5 separate regions of the Homo sapiens genome follow, and all the other regions are linked to region 1. Evidence: promoter capture Hi-C in human tissues and cell types (Jung and others, 2019). All regions are on one chromosome and are shown on one strand. Each heading gives the region's core, a stretch centred on a gene start or on the middle of the fragment in contact. The rest is flanking DNA. Distances are from core to core; before and after follow the strand shown.

The links. Contacts are between HindIII fragments. The study calls those that stand out against the background at their distance.
Region 2: a contact is called between a fragment that was not itself captured here and the fragment with the promoter of ZNF611 in region 1, in 1 of the 25 tissues and cell types used here (adrenal gland).
Region 3: a fragment that was not itself captured here is called in contact with the fragment with the promoter of ZNF611 in region 1 in 1 of the 25 tissues and cell types used here (mesenchymal stem cells).
Region 4: a fragment that was not itself captured here is called in contact with the fragment with the promoter of ZNF611 in region 1 in 1 of the 25 tissues and cell types used here (spleen).
Region 5: a fragment that was not itself captured here is called in contact with the fragment with the promoter of ZNF611 in region 1 in 1 of the 25 tissues and cell types used here (adrenal gland).

What each region holds. Positions count from the first base shown.
Region 1 is chr19:52,732,724-52,736,678 of GRCh38, reverse strand. ZNF611 (zinc finger protein 611) reads left to right here and starts at 1,635. Exons shown (of 6, transcript NM_001161499.2): 1 at 1,635-1,678. LOC124904760 (a long non-coding RNA gene) reads right to left here and starts at 2,648. Exons shown (of 2, transcript XR_007067328.1): 1 at 2,219-2,648; 2 at 975-1,885. RefSeq lists enhancers at 1,220-1,349, 662-1,647 and a silencer at 1,530-1,599. The HindIII fragment of the contact is 18,911 bases long and covers 1-3,955 here.
Region 2 is chr19:52,980,770-52,984,724 of GRCh38, reverse strand. LOC105372453 (a long non-coding RNA gene) reads right to left here and starts at 2,516. Exons shown (of 2, transcript XR_936062.3): 1 at 2,430-2,516. It also overlaps the pseudogene ZNF702P. The HindIII fragment of the contact is 6,260 bases long and covers 1-3,955 here.
Region 3 is chr19:52,954,816-52,958,770 of GRCh38, reverse strand. It overlaps ZNF816-ZNF321P (ZNF816-ZNF321P readthrough), which reads left to right. Exons shown (of 4, transcript NM_001202473.2): 2 at 2,667-2,744. The coding sequence starts at 2,682. It overlaps ZNF816 (zinc finger protein 816), which reads left to right. Exons shown (of 4, transcript NM_001202457.3): 2 at 2,667-2,744. The coding sequence starts at 2,682. Among named protein-coding and RNA genes, the nearest start is that of ZNF816, 6.1 kb to the left of the region's middle. The HindIII fragment of the contact is 5,247 bases long and covers 1-3,955 here.
Region 4 is chr19:52,883,498-52,887,452 of GRCh38, reverse strand. The region is part of intron 5 of ZNF320 (zinc finger protein 320); the gene reads left to right. Among named protein-coding and RNA genes, the nearest start is that of ZNF320, 12 kb to the left of the region's middle. The HindIII fragment of the contact is 3,146 bases long and covers 228-3,373 here.
Region 5 is chr19:52,604,511-52,608,465 of GRCh38, reverse strand. All of the region lies in intron 1 of LOC137778871 (a long non-coding RNA gene), which reads right to left. Among named protein-coding and RNA genes, the nearest start is that of ZNF83, 32 kb to the left of the region's middle. The HindIII fragment of the contact is 6,396 bases long and covers 1-3,955 here.

The sequences.
Region 1 (3,955 bases), core at 386-2,885:
CGGGCGGATCACAAGGTCAGGAGATAGAGACCGTCCTGGCTAACTCGATGAAATCCCATCTCTACTAAAAATACAAAAAATTAGCCAGGCATGTTGGCTCACGCCGTAACCCCAGCACTTTAGGAGGCTGAGGCAGGCAAATAACTTGGAGTGAGGAGTCCGATACCGGCCTGGTCAACATGGTCAACCCCGTCTCTACTAAAAATACAAAAATTAGCCTGGCATGGTGGCGCACGCCTGTAATGCCAGCTGTTCCCAAGGCTGGGGCAGGAGAATCGCTTGAACCCAGGAGGCAGAGGATGCATTTAGTCGAGATCTCGCCACTGCACTCCAGCCTGGGCAACAGAGAAATACTCTGTCTCAAAAATAATAATAATAATAATAATAATAATAATAATAATACAAGAAAGTAATAGATCTCTTCCATAAATGTGCTAGGACAACTATCTGGATATCCACATGGAAAAGAATAATGTTGGATCCCTATGTCACACAATCAAAAATTTTATTTGCGAAAGTTTTTTTTAAAAAAAAAGAGAGAGAGAGAGACAAGAAAGGGAGACCGCGGCAGTGGGCGTTATTTTGTCGCTCAGGCTGGCTTGGAACCCGAGGCTCAGGGATCCTCCCGCCGCTGCTTCCTGAGTAGCTGGGACCTCAGGCTCCCGCCCCCGCGCCTCTGCTGTCTTTAAGCAGCAGGTGGTGACCTCACTCCTTCTCGGCCTGAGCACTCCGTCCGGCATTCCAGGCGGTGGCTTCAGGGAAGTCTCTGAAGCTGAGCACAGGGCGGAGTCTCCTTCCGGAGTGAATGGACAATAGAAAGGGAGAGGATATCTATCTGTTCTGTGGGACCTCAGCATGACATGGTACATACCGCCCAGGCAGGGCTTTGCATTTCACATTCTAGTTTGTATCCCTGTTCCAGACAATTACAGTGTAGCAGGACGAGTCGCAGACAAAACCTCTCAGACACCGAGTTGTAGAAGGAAGGGCTTTATTCAGCTGGGAGCATTGGCAAGCTACTGCCTTAAAATCCAAGCTCCCCGAGTGCACAATTTCTGTCCCTTTTAAGGGCTCACAACACTAAAGATTTCAGATGAAAGGATAGTGACTGATTGAGCAAGCAAGGGATACGTGACAGGGGCTGCATGCACCGGTGATCAGGGAGAGAGAGAACAGGGCAGGAGTTTCACCGTGTTCTTCTATACAATGTCTGGAATCTATGCCTAACATCAGCTTCTAAATCATAAGTTGATTTTTAACTACTGGGTTTAGGCCAGGCGGATCCAGGCCTGGTTTCGGGCCTGGCGCGGGGCTGCCTGTCTTTGGTTTTACTTCCTGTTGTTTTTACTGACTATAAAACAATATAAAACAATGTCAGAGGGTCTCTCTCTTCTCTCAACAGGGCTTTTGTATCATGCCTCAGACTTTCTGGCGCTCTCGCCTCCAAAACCTGAAAACAGAGACGCTGGGAGCGAGGCTGAGAGACGCGCAGATCCCGCCCCGGCCCTGCCCTCTGCCGGTTCTAAAAGGCAAGGTCTCTCCGCCTCGCGCCCCGCCCCTACCTCGCCCAGGCCCCGCCTACCTCCCACTTCCCGCCCAGGCCTGGCTTTTGTCCTGCGCGCGCAGATTAACGCAAACCCGGAAGCGGATCGGGTGGAGTGTAGGTCATATCGCCGCGGTGAGTTTTGCTCTGTGTTGTATTAAGTCTGCGCTAACTAGGTTCCCAGGGCTTCTGTCCCTGGGACGTGGGGTCCCCACAGACCTGGAAATTCTCCGGCGTCTTCCTTTGCCCAGAGCAAATTGAGACATCCCCGTGAGAGCCCGAGGGTCGCTTCCTTTTGGGTTTAAAGTCGTCCTGAGGCTGGTCTCGTCCCCGGTCTTTCTGCTATAGGTCAATGTATACACTTTCTGTTGCGTAGTTTTCCTGCTGAAAACCTTGTTCTGACTCCTCGCGCCCCGCGCTTTTTAAAGTCTTCACCCGCGATGTGGATTCTTGCCCAGGGCGCCTCCCAGCCTCCCCCTCCTCAGCCCCGGGAGCGCCGCGCCGCAGCCCCAGTCCCGGGGAGGCCGAGTCCTCTGCCAGGTCCTGGGATCCTGCAGACCCCATCCTGGTCCTAAGGCGCCGTCGCGCCCCCCCCCCCCGCCCCGCACCTTCCTCCTCATGCCGGGGCCTGCTGCTCCCCAGGTCTCCCCTCCGCAGTCACCGCTTTCATTGAACCTGCACTGGGGAGGTCCCAGGGGCCTGTCCTGCGGCACGGGGTATTCTTGCCTGCGGAGCTCCAGGGCGTGGAAAATGCGCTCCTCCGGGATGCAGGCGTCTTACTCCAAACCGTGTTGCGATTGTGTGGGCCAAAGGAATCAGGAGACAGAGAGCAGTAGAAAACCTGAGGCAGAGAAAAGAAGAATAAGAAAGGCCCATAACAGATGGCAAAATAGAGGATTGGTGAGGGATATGCCAAGAGATGGCAGAAGTGAAAAAAAAAAAAAAAAACCTAAGAAAGCAGGAGGAGAAAAGCAACCGGAGAAATGTAGAGAAAGGCTAGATAGATGTACAGAGAGATGAAGGATCACAAGGTAGGGGGAGTGGCAGCAAAGAGGGAGACTCATCAGAGTGAGGGAGAGAGGGAAGGATTTGGAGCCAGGGCAGACAGAGCAGAGTGGTGCTTGTGTCAAGGAGAACAGAGGGAGAACCACAGCAGAGAGGACAGCTGGGATCTGGGGAGACACAGAGTGGGGACAAGGGAGTATATCGGGGAAGATGGAATTTAACAGGGAGAGCAGAGGAGGCGCAGAGATGGGAGAAGAGGCAGAAATAGATGGAGATTGAGGACGATTGAAAGATTGGGGAGAAGGAGCAATAAGAGGTTAAATAAGTTGTGAGGATGGAGGAGAAGAGGTGGAAGAGAAGGAATAAAGGGAAGAAGGGGATGAATAGCAGGAGAGGAGAGGGGTACAAAATGAAGAGCAGAATCCCAGGGAAAAAGAAAAGAAAACAAGAGCTAGAGAGAGAAGGGGAGAATGAGAGATATGTACAGAATTAGGGAGGGAAGCACAGTAATGAAGAAAGAGGGTCTGGACACAGTGGCTCACGCCTGTAGTCTGTAGTCTCCACACTTTAGGAGACTGAGGCAAGGGGATTGCTTGAGTCCAGGAGTTCGAGACCAGCTTGGGCAACATAGTGAGACCTCCCCCCCGCCAAAAAAGTAAGTAAATAACCGGGCATAATGGTGTGCACCTGTACTCCCAGCTGCTCTGGTGGCCAAGCTGGGAGGATGACTTGAGCCCAGGAGGTCCAGGCTGCAGTGAGCTGAGATCATGTGACTACACTGCAGCCTGGTCGTCAGAGCGAGACCTTGTCTCCAAACAAAAAAAAAGGGGCGAGAGACTGGGTTCAGATGAGTGGGTGAGTTCATTGGATATGATTGGTTGTGACATGTTGAGTTCTGTATATATAATCTAATAACTAAAAACTTGTTTAAATTACACAGATGAGATTGAGAATTTTAAAATTCGTATCTATAAGACATGTACATTCTATAAATCTTGGCATCAGAGGTTATGTTCCACTTGGAATCCCTATTTGCCAGAGGGCAGTCACTTATTCAGTTGTGAATCACTGTCTCCCCTTTTCCTAGGATGGGGTAGGACGTGGGTCAGTGAAGTGGGAAAATAGTCACTGTCTGTTGTTACAAAATACATTTAATTAATTAATTAATTAATATTTTGAGACAGGGTCTGACTCTATCACCCAGGCTGGTGTGCAGTGGCGTGATCTCCTCTAACTGCAGCCTCGACCTCTTAAGTTCAAGCCATCCTCCTTCCTCAGCCTTCTGAGTAGCTGAGACCAGAGGCATGAGCCACCAAGCCCGGCTAGTTTTTGTATTTTTTTTTTTTTTTGTAGAAACGGAGTTTCACTATGTTTCCTAGGCTGGTCTCAAAATCCTGGGCTCAAAGG
Region 2 (3,955 bases), core at 713-3,212, 250 kb before region 1:
TTAAATTAAATAGTTGACTGACAGTTACCCCTTCCTCTCTGTTTACTCTACCCAATAAATATGAAGGGCTGTAGAAGCTCAGGGCTCTTGTTCTCTAGAAGCAAAGAGCCCCCGATCCCTTCTTGCAAACAGATACTTTTGTCTTTGACTCCATACTCCATTCCCGTGTTCGTCCTCCTCCATTCAGTCCCAATGTAACAGCAACAGTTTGAGACCAGCCTGGCCAACATGGTGAAACCTCATCTGGACTAAAATACAGGTTAGCTGGGTGTGGTGGCTGGTGCCTGTAATCCCAGCTACTCAGGAGGGTGAGGCAGGAGAATCGCTTGAACCCAGGAGGCAGAGGCTGCAGTGAGCTGAGATCATGTCACTGCACTCCAGCCTGGGTGACAGAGCAAGACTCCATCTCAAAAACATAAAATAAATAACTACTTCTCAAATAAGCTTTGGTAGAATTTTATGAGCTCATATCATTTTTTTTTTTGAGATGGAGTCTCATTCTTTTGCCCAGGCTGGAGTGCAATGGCGCGATCTCGGCTCACTGCAACCTCCACCTCTCAGGTTCAAGTGATTCTCCTGCCTTAGCCTCCCGAGTAGCTGGGACTACAGGCCCCCGCCACCATGCCAGGCTAATTTTTGTATTTTTAGTAGAGACAGGGTTTCACCATATTGGCCAGGCTGGTCTCAAACTCCTGATCTTGTGATCTGCCAACCTTGGCCTCCCAAAGTGCTGGGATTACAGGCGTGAGCCACCACACCCAACCTCACATCATTGTTTTTATCTATGTGTTCAAAATTTTCTCCTTTGACCCCACATTTCATTAGATGTATATATTTTTAACCATTTTAATATAGTTTCTCTATGAAATTTATTGTGTCCAGTTTACATTGAAGACTGCATGCTTTCTAGTCTGTACCACATATTGGAAACACTTTCTAGTACCTGATAAATGATTTTAGGTTGTTTCAATGCATATTTGATAAAGATGTCAAGAATCTATTTTCTTTCTTTCTTTTTTTTTTTTTTTTGAGATGGAGTTTCACTCTTGTTGCCCAGGCTGGAGTGCAATGGCATGATCTCAGCTCACCGCAACTTCCGCCTCCAGGGTACAAGTGGTTCTCCTGCCTCAGCCTCCCAAATAGTTGGGATTACAGGCATGCACCACCACACCCAGCTAATTTTGTAATTTTAGTAGAGACAGGGTTTCTCCATGTTGGTCAGGCTGGTCTCGAATTCCTGACCTTAGGTGATCCACCTGCCCTGGCCTCCCAAAGTGCTGGGATTTCAGGTATGAGCCACCACGCCTGACCCTAGGACCTATTTTCTTTATGCTAACATAAAAATTTAGTTCAAGTAGCCTGTTACTCTACTTTCTTTCCTTATGTCATCTGATAAAATGGTGAACTGTGACCTTCTAAGTAAACATTCTCCTCAAGTTCCTCTGGTCCATAATATTCTTTGCAGATGTTGAAGGATGGGCTGGATTGACTTGGAACCTTGTTTCAGCAGAGCCCACGTGTTCATGAAGAAAACATTTGCTCACAGCTTATTTCTACCACTGCCTCTCTTTCAGTGTTTTAAAAACCTATAGCTATGTGTTCACAATTGTTTTTATTTTGAATGTATTACTGTCATTTTTCTGGGAAAATATTTACATGTTTAGGATTCGTGCCATCAGAATTTTGGACATTGAAAGAGACATTTCTTTTGCTTGGGGATATAAAAGATGGTCCTGGAATATTTTTCCTTTTTTTGAAATGGAGTGTTACTCTGTCACCCATGCTTAAGTACAGTGGCACGATCTTGGCTCACAGCAACCTCTGCCTCTGAGGCCCAAGTGATCCCCCCCAGTCAGCCTGCCAAATAGCTGGGACCACAGATGCACACCACCATGTCTGGCTAATTTTCTGTACTTTCGTTAGAGATGGAGTTTCACCATGTTGCCAGGTTTGTCTCAAACTCCTGGGCTCAACTGACCCACTTGCTTCAGCCTTCCAAAGTGCTGGAATTACAGGAGTGAGCCACCACATGTGGCCAGTCCTGGAATTTTATAGAGGAAGATGACCAACGCAGCCTGTTGACCCTTCCTGGCCATCACATGAAAATCAGCGACTCCTCCTTCTTACAAAACTCAGAGCTTCTCAGGATAACTTGGTGAAACGTCCCCCGCTGTGAACCTCACTGAGCCCACCTGTAATATACAGGTGAGGGAGAAGACCAGAAAAGCTCAGAGTGACACTGACCCCTGAAATGATGGGCACAATGGAGTGTGTGGCTTTTCCTTTAGGACAGGGAGGTGCTTAGCTGTAATTTGAATTTTAAATGGATTTCAGTCCTCCAAAAATGTAAAAAACAAAAGCACAAGAAGGAAAAAATGAGATTAGAATCAAATCACCTTGAACCTTATCATCTCACCGCTTTAGCCCACCTGTATGACTCCACGTCCCCTGCAGGCCTCGCCCCTGAGCTCCACAATTCTGTGTCCAGTTGTCTCTTCAGCTCTCTGCTGGGACATCAAACAGGCATCTCCACCTTCATGTGTCAAGAAGTCATAAGTGACTTCTTGAACCCCCAAACACATTCCCTTGCAGTCCTACACCTCTCAGATGAGGGCGACAGTGTACTTCTGGGAGCTTAGCTGAAACTGACAGCATGTATTTTAAATATGGGAAATAAATTCCACTATTTGTGAGTGTTGTAACTTACAATGTAAAGAGAAAGTTGCATGTATACATGAAAGGAGTGAGGAAATACATCATTTCCAAAATTCTTTTGAGGTGTGGGAGAAAAATGTTTCAAGACCTCGTCCCTAGGGATCTTCACTTCCAGGACCTCTCTGAGGTCATCTCCTGCCTGTGTCCTCCTCACTCCCTCTGCTCCAGCCACGCACACCTCTTTCCTTTTTCTGGGACTGAGGTTGCTTTTGTCTCAGTGCCTTCACCTGAGATGTCACTCTGCCCAGGACTCTCTGGCCCCTCAGCTACAAGTGACAAGCAGTGTTTCATCCCTAAGTCTTTGTTCTGACATTGCTTTCTCTATGGAAACGTTTGTGATCACCCACAGTCCCCCATTTGACATGGCAGCTCCACCTTCACCCCCACCTCTGGTCCATGTTGCCTGTTCTTTGTGATTCTTTTTGCTCCTTCGCTTTTCACTGGATCCTGGTGGGAACAAGTCCCGAAGTGGAGAGCAGAGCCAGAAGGTGGGGCTGTGCTGGGCTGGCGCTGTCTGAGTGGAGCTCAACCCTGGCTTCACATTAGGGTTCTCAGGCATTTTGCAAATACATCTTTTAAGCTGTTTTATCAGAGATTGCTATTATCATAGGATTAAACCCACCCTCAATAATTCTTACAATGGTGCAGGTGATTCTCATCTGTGTCCAGCATTGAAAATCAAGGCAGTTTCCTCCATGTTGAGAGCTGAGATCAGCCTGTGATCCACAGGGAGCTGAGGGGGCTGTGCTCTGCATGGGGTTTGGTTAGGGCCAGATCTGTGCCCTGAAGGTCTGTGTCCTGCTGCAGTGTGTGTGTGGACTTTTCCAGGAGGGGAGCAAGATCTGAAAACGGGTCAAAATTACACTTGTAGGTCTTCCTGTGGGGCTTTGTTATCTTGGCATGATCTCTGGTGTGGTGGGCAGCAGAGGACCATCTTCCTACTGGGTGAGGTCTCCCCTGTGTGTGTGTTTTGTCACAGGAAAGGAGTGAGTGGTTTCTAAACATTAAATCTCTTATTTTTTTTTTTTCACAAACAGGATTGATTTCCAAAAACTCCTGTTACATGAGGAAGACACCAAGAAGAGCAAAGAAAAGGAGCCAGGGTGGCTCTTCCTCAGGTGAAGTGGATATTTCTCGGTGGATTAATCTGTCTCTTTCCTTTCTGAAATGCCAGGTATTGTAGTAGTCAGTCTCCTGTGAGTCTGAAGCATCCTGCCTCACACATTTGCTTGCATTCACT
Region 3 (3,955 bases), core at 393-2,892, 220 kb before region 1:
GTCTTAGGCTTCAGTAGGTTGCAAAAAGCCTGCTTTCCTTCTGATCCCAGGCTGCGCTCCCCCTGTTGGATAGTAAATCCTAGGTAATGTACCTGCTGTCAGCAGATCTGGGCTTTCTTCTTGGACAACTTATACCTATAGTCCTCCAAGGGCCAGAGTAGGGCATCCTTTCCCTTGGCACACTCAACTGCCATGGGGTGTCCTAACAGAAGGTCATCAACGTACTGGAGCAATGCGCAGCCTAGGTCTCTGGTGGGAAACTTCTGGAGGTCCCGAGCCAGTGCTTCCCTGAAGATGGTGGGGGAGTTCTTGAACCCTTGCAGAAGCCGGGTCCAAGAGTACTGAGCAGTGACACCTGATCCCAGATCTTCCTACTGAAAGGCAAACAGCTTCTGGCTCTGAGGGGCTAGTCTAATGCTAAAGAAAGTGTCTTTCAGGTCTAAGCCAGAGAACCAGCTGTCCTCAGCTGGCAGCAACCTTAACGTGTACGGGTTAGGTACTGTTGGATGTAAAGTCACTGTAGCTTGATTGACTAAGTGCAAGTCCTGTACCGGCCTGTAGTCATTGGTCCCTGGCGTGGGAACAGGCAGGAGGGGAGTGTTCCAGGGAGACTGACAAGGGACTGTAATTCTAAAGGCTCTCAGGCTCTTGAGATGGACCTGGATACTTTCAAGATCTTCTCTGGGGACCAGGTACTGTTTTTGCCTGACTGGCTGGGCCCTACGCTTAACTTCTATAAGTACCAGGGCTTGGTTAACTGCCATCCCTGGAGGGTTGTCTTCTGTCTACACCCTTGGCCACCGCTTAGCCAGAGTTGGTCTTATCTCTTGGCCTGGCTCAGTTAAAAGAAGTCTCCATTCCTCTTCCTGGGGGACTGTAAGGGCCATAATGACTCCCGTTCTGGGTAACCTTAGCTGTAAAGAGCTGTGCTCTGTAGAAGAGACGGTGGCTCTCAGCTCGCTAAGCAAGTCCTTTCAAGTCCTTTCAAGTCAGGCATGTACAAGAACTGGTGAATCACTTTATGTCTTCCTACAGTACAAGTCTGGGGCAACAGAAAGCTTGCTTTGATAAAACTCCCATGGCTCCGATTATAACAATAGTCTTTTTGGAAAGGGGGGCAACCGGGGCGGTTACTACTGAATGTTCAGCACTGGTATCAATACGAAAATCAATGTCTTTGCCCCTAACTGTCATCTTGACCATGGGCTCCTTGGGGGCAGTTGAGCCTGGTCCTCCTCAGTTCAGTAACTCTTCTGCTATATTGAACAGGGCTCCTTCTGGGGCCTCCTGCTCTGAGCCACCTTGTTTTCCTTTTAGCTGAGGGCACTTGTCCTTCTAATATCCTATTTCTTTACAGTAAGCACACTGGTTACACTGCAAGTTCGGATGGCCAGGCTAAGTATCTTTCTGGGGCACATGCCTACCTGGTAGCACTCTCAGAATCCATGTCGCCCAAGCTGGCTGGAGTACCCAGCAGGGATGCTCCAAAGGGCAGGCCTAAGTCACCTAAGGGGTTGCCTCGACCTTCTGTTAATTACCTCGCTTCCAAGTCAGGGAACCAAGAAATGTAGCATGACGAGCCGCAGACAGTACCTCTCAGACAACGGATTAAAGAAGGAAGTGGCTTTATTCGGCCCAGCGCATCAGAGGACTCGTGTCTCAAGAACTGAGCTCCCTGAAAAAGAAATTCCTGGCCCTTTTAAGGGCTTACAGCTCTAAGGCATCCACGTGAAAGGGTCATGATAGATCAAGCAAGTGTGGGGAATGTGACTTGACACTACGTGCATCAGCTAACAGAACAGAAACTTTTGCAATGCTTCTTCATACAATGTCTAGAATTTACAGATAACATAAGTAGTTTAGGTCAGGGGTTGGTATTATTATTATTTTTAACCACCGGGGCCAGGTGGTAGCACCAAGGTCGTCTGGCTATTTATCTTACTTCTGTTTCTTTCTAACTTTTTGCTTTCTTCCTTTCCTCCTGTCTTATAAACTAGGCAAGGGGGAGGGAGGAAGGCAGCAGGAGAAGTGGTGGTCTGCTTCCTACCTCAGCCTCCAGAGTAGCTGGGACCACAGCTGCGTGCCACCACACCACACTAATTTTTGTGTTCTTCGTAGAGATGGGCTTTCGCCATGTTGCTCAGGCTGGTGTCCAACCCCAGAGCTGAAGGGATCCAGCTGCATCGGCCTCCCAAAATGCTGGGATTACAGGCATGCTGTTTTATCAGATTGCTATTATAATAGGATGGGACCCACACTCAATAATACTTACAATGGCACTGGTGATTCTTATCTGTGTCCAGCATTAAACATCAAGGAAGTTTCCTCCATGTTGAGAGCTGAGATCAGTCTGTGATCCACAGGGAGGTGAGGGGGCTGTGCTCTGCATGGAGTTTGGTTAGGGCTAGATCTGTGCCCTGAAGATCTGTGTCCTGCTGCAGCGTGTGTGTGGACTTTTCCAGGAGGGGAGCAAGATCTGAAAACGGGTCAAAATTACATTTGTAGGTCTTCCTGTGGAACTTTCTTATCTCTGCATGGTCTCTGGTGCAGTGGGTAGCAAAGGACCATCTTTCTCTCGGGTGAGGTTTCCCCTGTGTGTGTGTTTTGTCACAGGAAAGGAGTCAATGGTTTCTAAATATTAAATCTCTTGCTTTTTTAACATACAGGATTTCCAAAGACTCATGTTACGTGAGGAAGCCACCAAGAAGAGCAAAGAAAAGGAGCCAGGGATGGCTCTTCCTCAGGTAAGTGATATTCCTTGGTGGATTCTTCTGTCTCTTTCCTTTCTGAAGTGCCAGGTATTGTAGTAGCCAATCTTCTCTGAGTGTGAAGCATTCTACATCACACGTTTGCTCGCACTCACCCGTGTCTTTTCTCAGTCCCTCTCATCTTCACTTAAATTCCATCTCCTATAACCTAGTGACATGAGCTTGGGAAGAGGCTCCACTGGGCATGGTCCTGGGAAGGGCTCACACCAGACATGGATGGAGATGGGGTGTGGGCCCCATGGTGTCAGTGATGTTGGGCAGCAGGGATTGTTCAGGGGCCACATCTGGATGCATGTTTAGCTCTTTGTGGACCAGATCAGAGAAACTGTATATGAAAGTCATACATTAATGTTCACTGGTTAATCTGGTAAATTCTGGAAGAGGAGACAAACTAGGGGAGATATTTTGTGTCTGATTTTGTAATGCATTTGAAGCTACACTAGTGAGTCAATATGTCTCTGACGCCAAACTTTTGTTTTAAGAGACACGGTGTCACTCTGGGGCCCAGTCTGGAGTGCAATGGCACAATTCTAGTTTACAGCAGCCTCGAACTCCTGGGCTTAAGTGGCCCTCCCACCTGAGCTTCCCAAATTGCTGGGATTACAGGTGTGAGACAGCCCAGCAGGACTCTGCACTTTCAATGTCTTAGAATAGAATGGAAAGCGGATATAGATACCAGTAATAGAGTTAGCTTTATTCCATCATTGACTTCAAATTATGAAATCAATATAAATATCTAACTGCAGGGGATTCTTTAAATCATTCTCAGCACTTTGACCCCACAGAGACTTTTTTTTTGTTTTTTGTTTTGTTTTGTTTTTTTTACAGGGACTCTGATGAAGCAAACATTTTAGGTAAAAATGATTATAAGTTTGCTCTGACATAAGAGCACAACTTACGTCGTTAGAGAGGATGGAGCCATTCTTTTTCTACCCATTATTATTAAGTAATTCTTTTATTTTAAACATCACATGATGTATATATGTGTTGTGTAGTAAAAGTCCAAAGAAAAGTGCACTTATGCATCCCCTTTCCTGTCCAGCCTTCCACCCATTCCCATGTCTCAGTGGGGAATCGCTGTTGAGAGTTCTGTGGCAAGTCGGCGCAATCCTTTAGAAATGTATTCATATACCGTTATGAGATTTTAGAAAAAATTATTTGATGAATGGGGTTTTTTTTTTTTTTTT
Region 4 (3,955 bases), core at 551-3,050, 150 kb before region 1:
AGTGGAGGAATTTGTGAAATATTTTCCTAGATCCACCTGTAATGTCTTCTTTCCTACAGAAATATAGGGCTGGGACTCTAGAAAAGCTCCAGCACATCATGGTCCTTTCTTTTTATAAGCACGAGTCTCTTTCTGACCTGTTATCTCCATGTTGGAGCAAGGGAAAGAGCCCTGGACTGTGGAGAGTTAAGTGAAAATAACAAAAAACTCCAGATGGGTGGGAATGTATTACAGGTGTAAACGCAGGTAAGAGCTCAGATGGGCAGAGTGGAAGCTCCACCTTCAAATAGTGTGTGGGGAAACTCTCTGCAAGTGGGAGAATTCTGTGGCAAAAGAAAAGTTTCAATCCTGAGATCTCTGAAGGGACATCTTTCTTTGCCCTCACTTATCCCTCTGCTCTTTCCTTATTTACTTCTTTTCTTTTCTTTTGTTTTGTTTTTTCTTTTCCTTCCTTCCTTCCTTCCTTCCTTCCTTCTTTCTTTCTTTTCTTTCTTTCTTTCTTCTTTTCTTTCTTTTTCTTTTGATAGTTTCACTCTTTCATCCAGGCTACAGTGCAGTGGAACGATCTTGGCTAACTGCAGCCTCTGCCTTTCAGGCTCAAAGGATTCTTGTGCCCCACCTTTCTTGGAGGCTGGGACTGCAGGCGCTCACCACCATGCCCAGCTCACTTTGTGTTTTTAGTAGAGATGGGGTTTCACCATGTTGTTCAGGCTGGTCTCAAACTCCTTATCTCAAGTGATTCACCTGCTTCGGCTTCCCAAAATGCTGGGATTACAGGCGCGAGCTGCCATGCCCAACCATGGTTATTCTTTTAAATAGTTTTGTCTTTTAGTTCTTAGTAAACATAAGTGGTTTAAACATGATTCCAGTGTGAATATAACAACCACATTAGTGTCCATTCCGTTCAGTACGCAGAAGTGAAGTGCGTTGTATTGATATATGGGGAGAGGTTATTGTTGCAGGTATGTTAAACATCTTAAACTTATAGCACAATAATGAAGCTTAAAATTTCCATAACCTGGCCAGGTGCAGTGGCTGACACCTGTTATTCCAGCACTGGGATGCCGAGGTGGGCAGATCGCCTGAGGTCAGGAGTTCAGAACCAGCCTGGGTAGCATGATGAAACTTCATCTGTACTAAATTTACAAAAATTAGCCAGGCACAGTGGTGGGCAGCTGTAATCCCAGCTACTCAGGAGGCTCAGGCAGGAGAGTCACTTGAACCTGGGAGGTGGAGGTTGCAGTGAGCCAAGATCGCACCATTGCACTCCAGCCTGGGAGACAGAGTGAGACTCCATGTCAAAAAAATAAAAATAAAAATAAAAAAATTCCATAACCTACAAAAACTACTTCTTCTCCAGTAGAACTTTTTTATTTTTGTCAGAGTTATTTTTGTGTATGTTGCATTTCTGTTAACATATATGTACAGTGTTTTTTCATACATTTTCATTTTTAATAATATGAAAAAAAGTTTAGTTATGAAGAAAAGGTATACGTATGCGAGTTTCTGTATCTGTCCTTTTATTAATTAATTAATTTATGTATTTATGAGACAGAGTTTTGCTCTTGTCACCCAGGCTGAAGTGCAGTGCTGCAATCTTGACACCACAACCTCCACCTCCCCGGTTCAACCAATTCTCCTGCCTCAGCCTGTCGAGTAGCTGGGATTACAGGCATGCGCCACCACACCCAGCTAATTTTGTATTTTTATTGTTTTATTTATTTATTTATTTTTTTGAGACAGAGTTTCACTCCTGTTTCCCAGGCTGGAGTGCAATGGTGCAATCTCAGCTCACTGCAACCTCCACCTCCCAGGTTCAAGCAGTTCTCCTGCCTCAGCCTCCTGAGTAGCTGGGACTACAGGTGCTGGCCACTATGCCTGGCTAATTTTTGGTATTTTTAGTTCAGACGGGGTTTCACTGTGTTAGCCAGGATGGTCTCGATCTCCTGACCTTGTGATCCACCCACCTCAGCCTCCCAAAGTGCTGGGATTACAGGCATGAGCCACCACGCCTGGCCTAATTTTGTATTTTTGGTAGAGACAGGGTTTACTCCTTGTTGTCCAGGCTGGTCTCGAACCCTTGACCCCAGGTGATCCGCCTGGCTTGCCCTCCCAAAGTGCTGGGATTATAGGCATGAACCACCATGCCCAGCCTACCCGTTTTTTTTATTTACCTTTACTGGAGAACTTTATATATGTTTGTGGGTTGGAGTTATTCTTTAGCCTTCTGTCATTTATTTATTTTTTCTTTGAGACACAGTCTCAGTCTCTCACCCAGGCTAAAGTGCAGTGGTGTGATCTTGGGTCACTGCAACCTCCACTTCCCAAATTCCAGTGATTCTCCTGCCTCAGCCTCTCAAGTAGCTGGGACTACAGGCGAGTGCCAACATGCCAGGCTAATTTTTTTGTATTTTTTTTTAGCAGAGATGGGGTTTTACCTTGTTAGCTGGGATGGTCTTGATCTCCTGACCTCAGGAATCTCCCACCTCATCCTCCCAAAATGCTGGGATTACCATGCCCTACATGTCTCAAGGTTTTTAAAACATGTTAGTGCTATTAGATGGCTTCAAGTATTGCAAGATTTATAGTAGAGACCCTAAACATCCTTTGTTTAATAAGATTTGTCAGCCTGTGGTGATGTTGATGATGAGATGCTCCTGTTCCTTTCTCTGTCATTTCACTGTTAGAAATAGCTTAGACTGACTGGCCACGGTGGCTCATGCCTCTAATCCTAGCACTTTCAAAGACCAAGGTGGGTAGATTGCTTGAGGTCAGGAGTTTGAAAACAGTCTGGCCAACATGGTGAAACCTGGAATGTACTAAATGCCAAAAATGGGCCAGGCGCAGTGGCTCACACCTAAAATCCCAGCACTTTGGGAGGCTGAGACAGGTTGATCACTTGAGGTCAGGAGTTCAAGACAAGCCTGGCCAATATGGTAAAACCCCATCTCTACTAAAACCACAAAAACCAGCTGTGCATGGTGACTTGCGCCTATAATCCCAGCTACTTGGGAGGCTGAGGCAGGAGAATCACTTGAACCCATGAGGTGGAGGTTGCAGGGAGCTGAGATCACGCCACTGCACTCCAGCCCGGGCAACAGAGTGAGACTCTGGGCTGAGGAGGGAGAATCAGTTGAGGTAGGAGAATCCTGCCAGTACACTCTAGCCTGGGTGATAAGAGCGTGACTCGATCTGAAGAATAAACGAAAAAGGAAGTAGCTTAAACTGGGAAGCTTAAGACACAGAAATTTATTTCTCATGAATTTGGAAAGTGGGAAATCCAAGAGCAAGGTGCCAGCCAAATTGATTCCTGGTGAGAGGCTTCTTCACGGTTTAGCCCAGCCATCTTCCTGCCATGTCCCAATATGGTAGAAAGAGGAACAGGCAATGAGCTCTTTAATGTCTCTATAAATGCACTAGTCCTATTCATGAGGAGTCAACACCCATGACTAAATTCTCTCAAAGTCTGCATCTGCAGGAACATCCTATTAGAGAATACCACATCTACCAAAGCTTATATGAGAAGTAGTTATTTATCTTATTTTATTTTTTTTGAGATGGAATCTCATCTTGTTGCCCAGGCTAGAGTGCAGTGGCACTATCTTGGCTCACTGCAACCTCCGCCTCCTGGGTTCAAATGATTCCTGCCTCAGATTCCCAAGTAGCTGGGATTACATGCACCTGCCACCACGTCCAGCTAATTTTTTTTGTATTTTTAATAGAGATGGGGTTTTACCATTTGTTCCAGGCTGGTCTCAAACTCCTGACCTCATGATCCACCCGACTCAGCCTACCAAAATGCTGGGATTACAGGTATGTGCCACCGTGGCCGGCCATTAGTCAATTCTTATTCCTTATAATTCTGTGTATTTTCTTCACCTCATACTTCAGAAGGTAGTGATTTTAACATGTATTTCAGTTCTTATGTTGTGTACGGGTGGTAACTACAAGTTAT
Region 5 (3,955 bases), core at 680-3,179, 130 kb after region 1:
TAGATTATATATATTACATATATAATATATATTTTATGTATTATATATTTTATATATAATATATATTACATATATATTTTATGTATTATATATTTTATATATAATATATATTACATATATATTTTATATAATATATATTATATATATTTTTTATATATAATATATATTTATATATATTATATATTTTTTATATATTATATATATTTATATATATATATATCTCTCTCCAGTTGCATCCATGTTGTTGGAAATGACAGGATGCCATACTTTTTGACGGCTGAACATTACTTCATTGTCTATAAGTATACACACAATATACTGATTTCTTTTATTTCTTGTATTTAGCCTAGTGCTGGGTATATATACCCAGCACTGGGCTTGCTGGATGATATGGTAGCTCAATGTTTAGTTTTTTAAATAGCTTATTTGCCTTATCTCTTTGCTTTCCCCCTGTTCCCACTAGCCAGACTCCTTTTCCCTAATTAGGACTCCACAGTAAATCCAAATATATTCTGAAGGCTATCTATGTTACAGGTTTTCTTACCACACCTGACAGAAAGAAAAACAAAGAAAAGGTATAAAATAACTTACAGGGCCGGGTGCGGTGGCTCAAGCCTATAATCCTAGCATTTTGGGAGGCCAAGGCACGCAGATCACCAGGTCAGGAGTTAAAGACTAGACTGGCCAATATGGTGAAATCCCATCTCTACTAAAAAGACAAAAAAAACTTAGCTGGGAGTAATGGCTTATGGCTGTAATCCCAGCTACTCGGGAGGCAGAGGCAGGAGAATTGCTGGAACCCAGGAGAAGGAGGATGCAGTGAGGCAAGATCGTGCTACTGCACTGCAGCCTGGGTGACAGACTGAGACTCCGTCTCAAAAAATAATAATAAAAATAATAAAAAATAAAATACCTTATAATTGGCCAGGTGTGGTGGCTCATGCCTGTAATCCCAGCACGTTGGGAGGCCGAGGCAGGCAGATCACTTGAGGACAGGAGTTCAAGACCAGCCTGGCCAACATAGCGAAATGCCGTTTCTACTAAAAATACAAAAATTAGCCGGGCATGGTGGCCCACACCTGTAATCCCAGCTACTCAGGAGGTTGAAGCAGGAAAATTGCTTGAACCTGGGAGGCGGGAGTTGCAGTGAGTCGAGATCGCACCACTGCACTCCAGCCTGGGTGACACAGTGAGATTGTCTCAAATAACAACAAACAAACAAACAAAACACCTTATAATTTGCAAATAAAAAGTATCTTTTCTAGTTACTTGCAGAATGCACGTAAAGTGAATTTAAAATTCTGCCGTGATAAAAGTTCATCTTATCAATTGGGTCACTCTTGCCACATCCAACTTATACAGGAGGTAAAAATAAACTATTTAGGCAGACAGTAAGGGCAAAAACTCCTCTGCAGAGCTTCCCTTCTAACAAAAAGCTGCCCAAAATATCGTTTTGTTCTAACAAAGAGCAGCCCGAAAAATCGATCTGCAAACATACGTAAGCAAGCTGGAAGCTTGCATGGGGGAAGTCAGCAGCTGTGCCAATAGAAAAGGGGCTACCTTGGGGCTAGGCATGTCCACCATGGAAGCTCCGTCTTTCCTTTTTTGTTAGCACGTGTACAGTAAGAAAGAAATGGGTAACATGGCACAGCTCAGGCAAAGAACCTGCATAATAAAAGATTGGGGAGGGGGCTGCCAGAAATTCATGCCGTATGCAAATGTTACATCTGGTCCTATGTAGATAAGACACTACCTCCCCACCAGCTCATCTATAAAACCCCTACGTTTTGCCACGAATCTGCAAACCATTTTTCCAGGACCTCTCTCTGTAGCAGAGAGCTATTGACTTTCTTTCGCCTATTGAACTTCCACTCTTAACGCCACTCTTGGGTGTCCGTGTCCTCGATTTCCGTGGCCATGAGACAACGAACATCAGGTATTACCCCAGAAAATGAGGCTGCCTCACAACTAAACCAAAGTCAAGAGGACAGATGAAAAATGAACTCAGGATACAAACATTGCTTCAAGAACGTGATTCTCTGAAGTATGGCTGCTGAAACTTCCTGTTGTAACCAGAAACCCCTGAAACCAGCTTTTTTTTTTTTTTTTTTTTTTTTTTTTTTTTTTTTTGGACAGTCTTCTCTGTCACCAGGCTAGAGTGAAGTGGCACAATCTCGGCTCACTGCAACCCATGACTCCCTGGATCAAGCGATTCTCCAGCCTCAGCCTCTGAGGTAGCGGGGATTACAGGCACATGCCAAGATGCCCACTAATTTTTGTATTTGTAGTAGAGACAAGGTTTCACCATGTTGGCCAGGATGATCTTGAACTCCTGACCTTGTGATCCAACCGCCTTGGCCTCCCAAGGTGCTGGGATTACAGGCATGAGCCAACGTGCCAGCCAAGATTTTTCTTTTAGCTGCTAAAATAAATTACCTGGGACTTTAAAAATAGTTTGTGAACGAAGTATCTGAGACAAATCTCAATCAGTTTAGAAAGTTTATCTTGCCAAGGTTAACTGCATGCCCACGACACAGGCTCAAGAGGTCCTAATGTCATGTGCCCAATATGGTCTAGGTAGAGCTTACATTTTAGGGAGTCATGACGTATCAGTAAGTGTCAGATGTACGTTGGTTAAGTCGGGAAAGGTGGAACAACCCAAAGCGGGGTGGGGGGTGGATTCCAGGACATAGGTAAATAAGAGACAAATGGTTGTTTTCTTTGAGTCTCTGATTAGCCTTTTGTACTTTGAGTAATTTTGTTCTCACATATTTTATTTTATTTTGAGATGAGGTCTTGCTCTTTTGCCAGATACTCAGGAGGCTGAGGCAGGAGAATCATCTCAACCCAGGAAACAGAGTTTGTGGTGAGCCAAGATCACACCATTGCACTCCAAGATGTGGTTGGGGAGAAATCCACAAATTTTGGTGATCAGAACTGAGGCATTCTGTGCTCAGTGGCATGAGAGAGTAGGAAAAACACTTTTTTTTTTTTTGTATTTCTTTTTTTTGGCGGGGGGTGGAGTCTTTCTTTGTTGCCCAGGCTAAAGTGCAGTGTCGGAATCTCAGCTCACTGCAGAGTCCACCTCCCGGGTTCGAGAGATTCTTCTGCCTCAGTCTCCCGAGTAGCTGGGATTACAGGCACCCACCACCACACCCGGCTACTTTTGGTATTTTTAGTAGAGACGGAGTTTCACCATGTTGGCCAGGCTGGTCTCAAACTCCCGACCTGAAGTGATCCGCCCTCCTCAGCCTCTCAAAATGATGGGATTACAGGCATGAGCCACCGCGCATGGCCTTTTTTTCCTACTTCAAATAGGCAAGCCAACTATTTGAACAAGCAGAGAGGGCTCTGTGCAGTATCCCGGGCCCCGGTTGCAAAGGAGGAGCAGCCCAGGTTTTCCGATCTCTTGATTAGGTGTTCCAAGTACAGGAAATGGGATGGAACCTGGTAGGTCAAGGGGTAGGTGTATGGAGGCCTCAGATCTTATCTATAGGGACAGAGAATGGAGCGTCAGAAGGAGTCAAGTACAGAATGAGAGACCACAGGGGAAGGAGACCCCTTTGACACAGCCCTCCCTGTTCCAGAGTCAAGAAACCAATGAGGTCACAGAAGCCAGATGACACGGTGTTGCCCATCAGGATAAAGATTCTGCCTTTGTCTCTGAGCTGCAGCATCACTAGAGGACAAAAAAATCAAACTACTACACATCTAAAGAGCAGAGGGGCCTGGCGTGGTGACTCACACTTGTAATTTCAGCACTTTGGGAGGCCGAGGCAGGAAAAACACCTGAGGTCAGGAGTTCGAGACCAGCCTGGCCAACATGGCACAACCCCGTCTCTACCAAAAATGCAGAAATTAGCCTAGTATGGTGGTGATGCATGCCTGTAGTTCCAGCTACTTGGGAGGCTGAGGCAGGAGAATCACTTGAACCCAGGTGGTGGAGGTCGTAGTG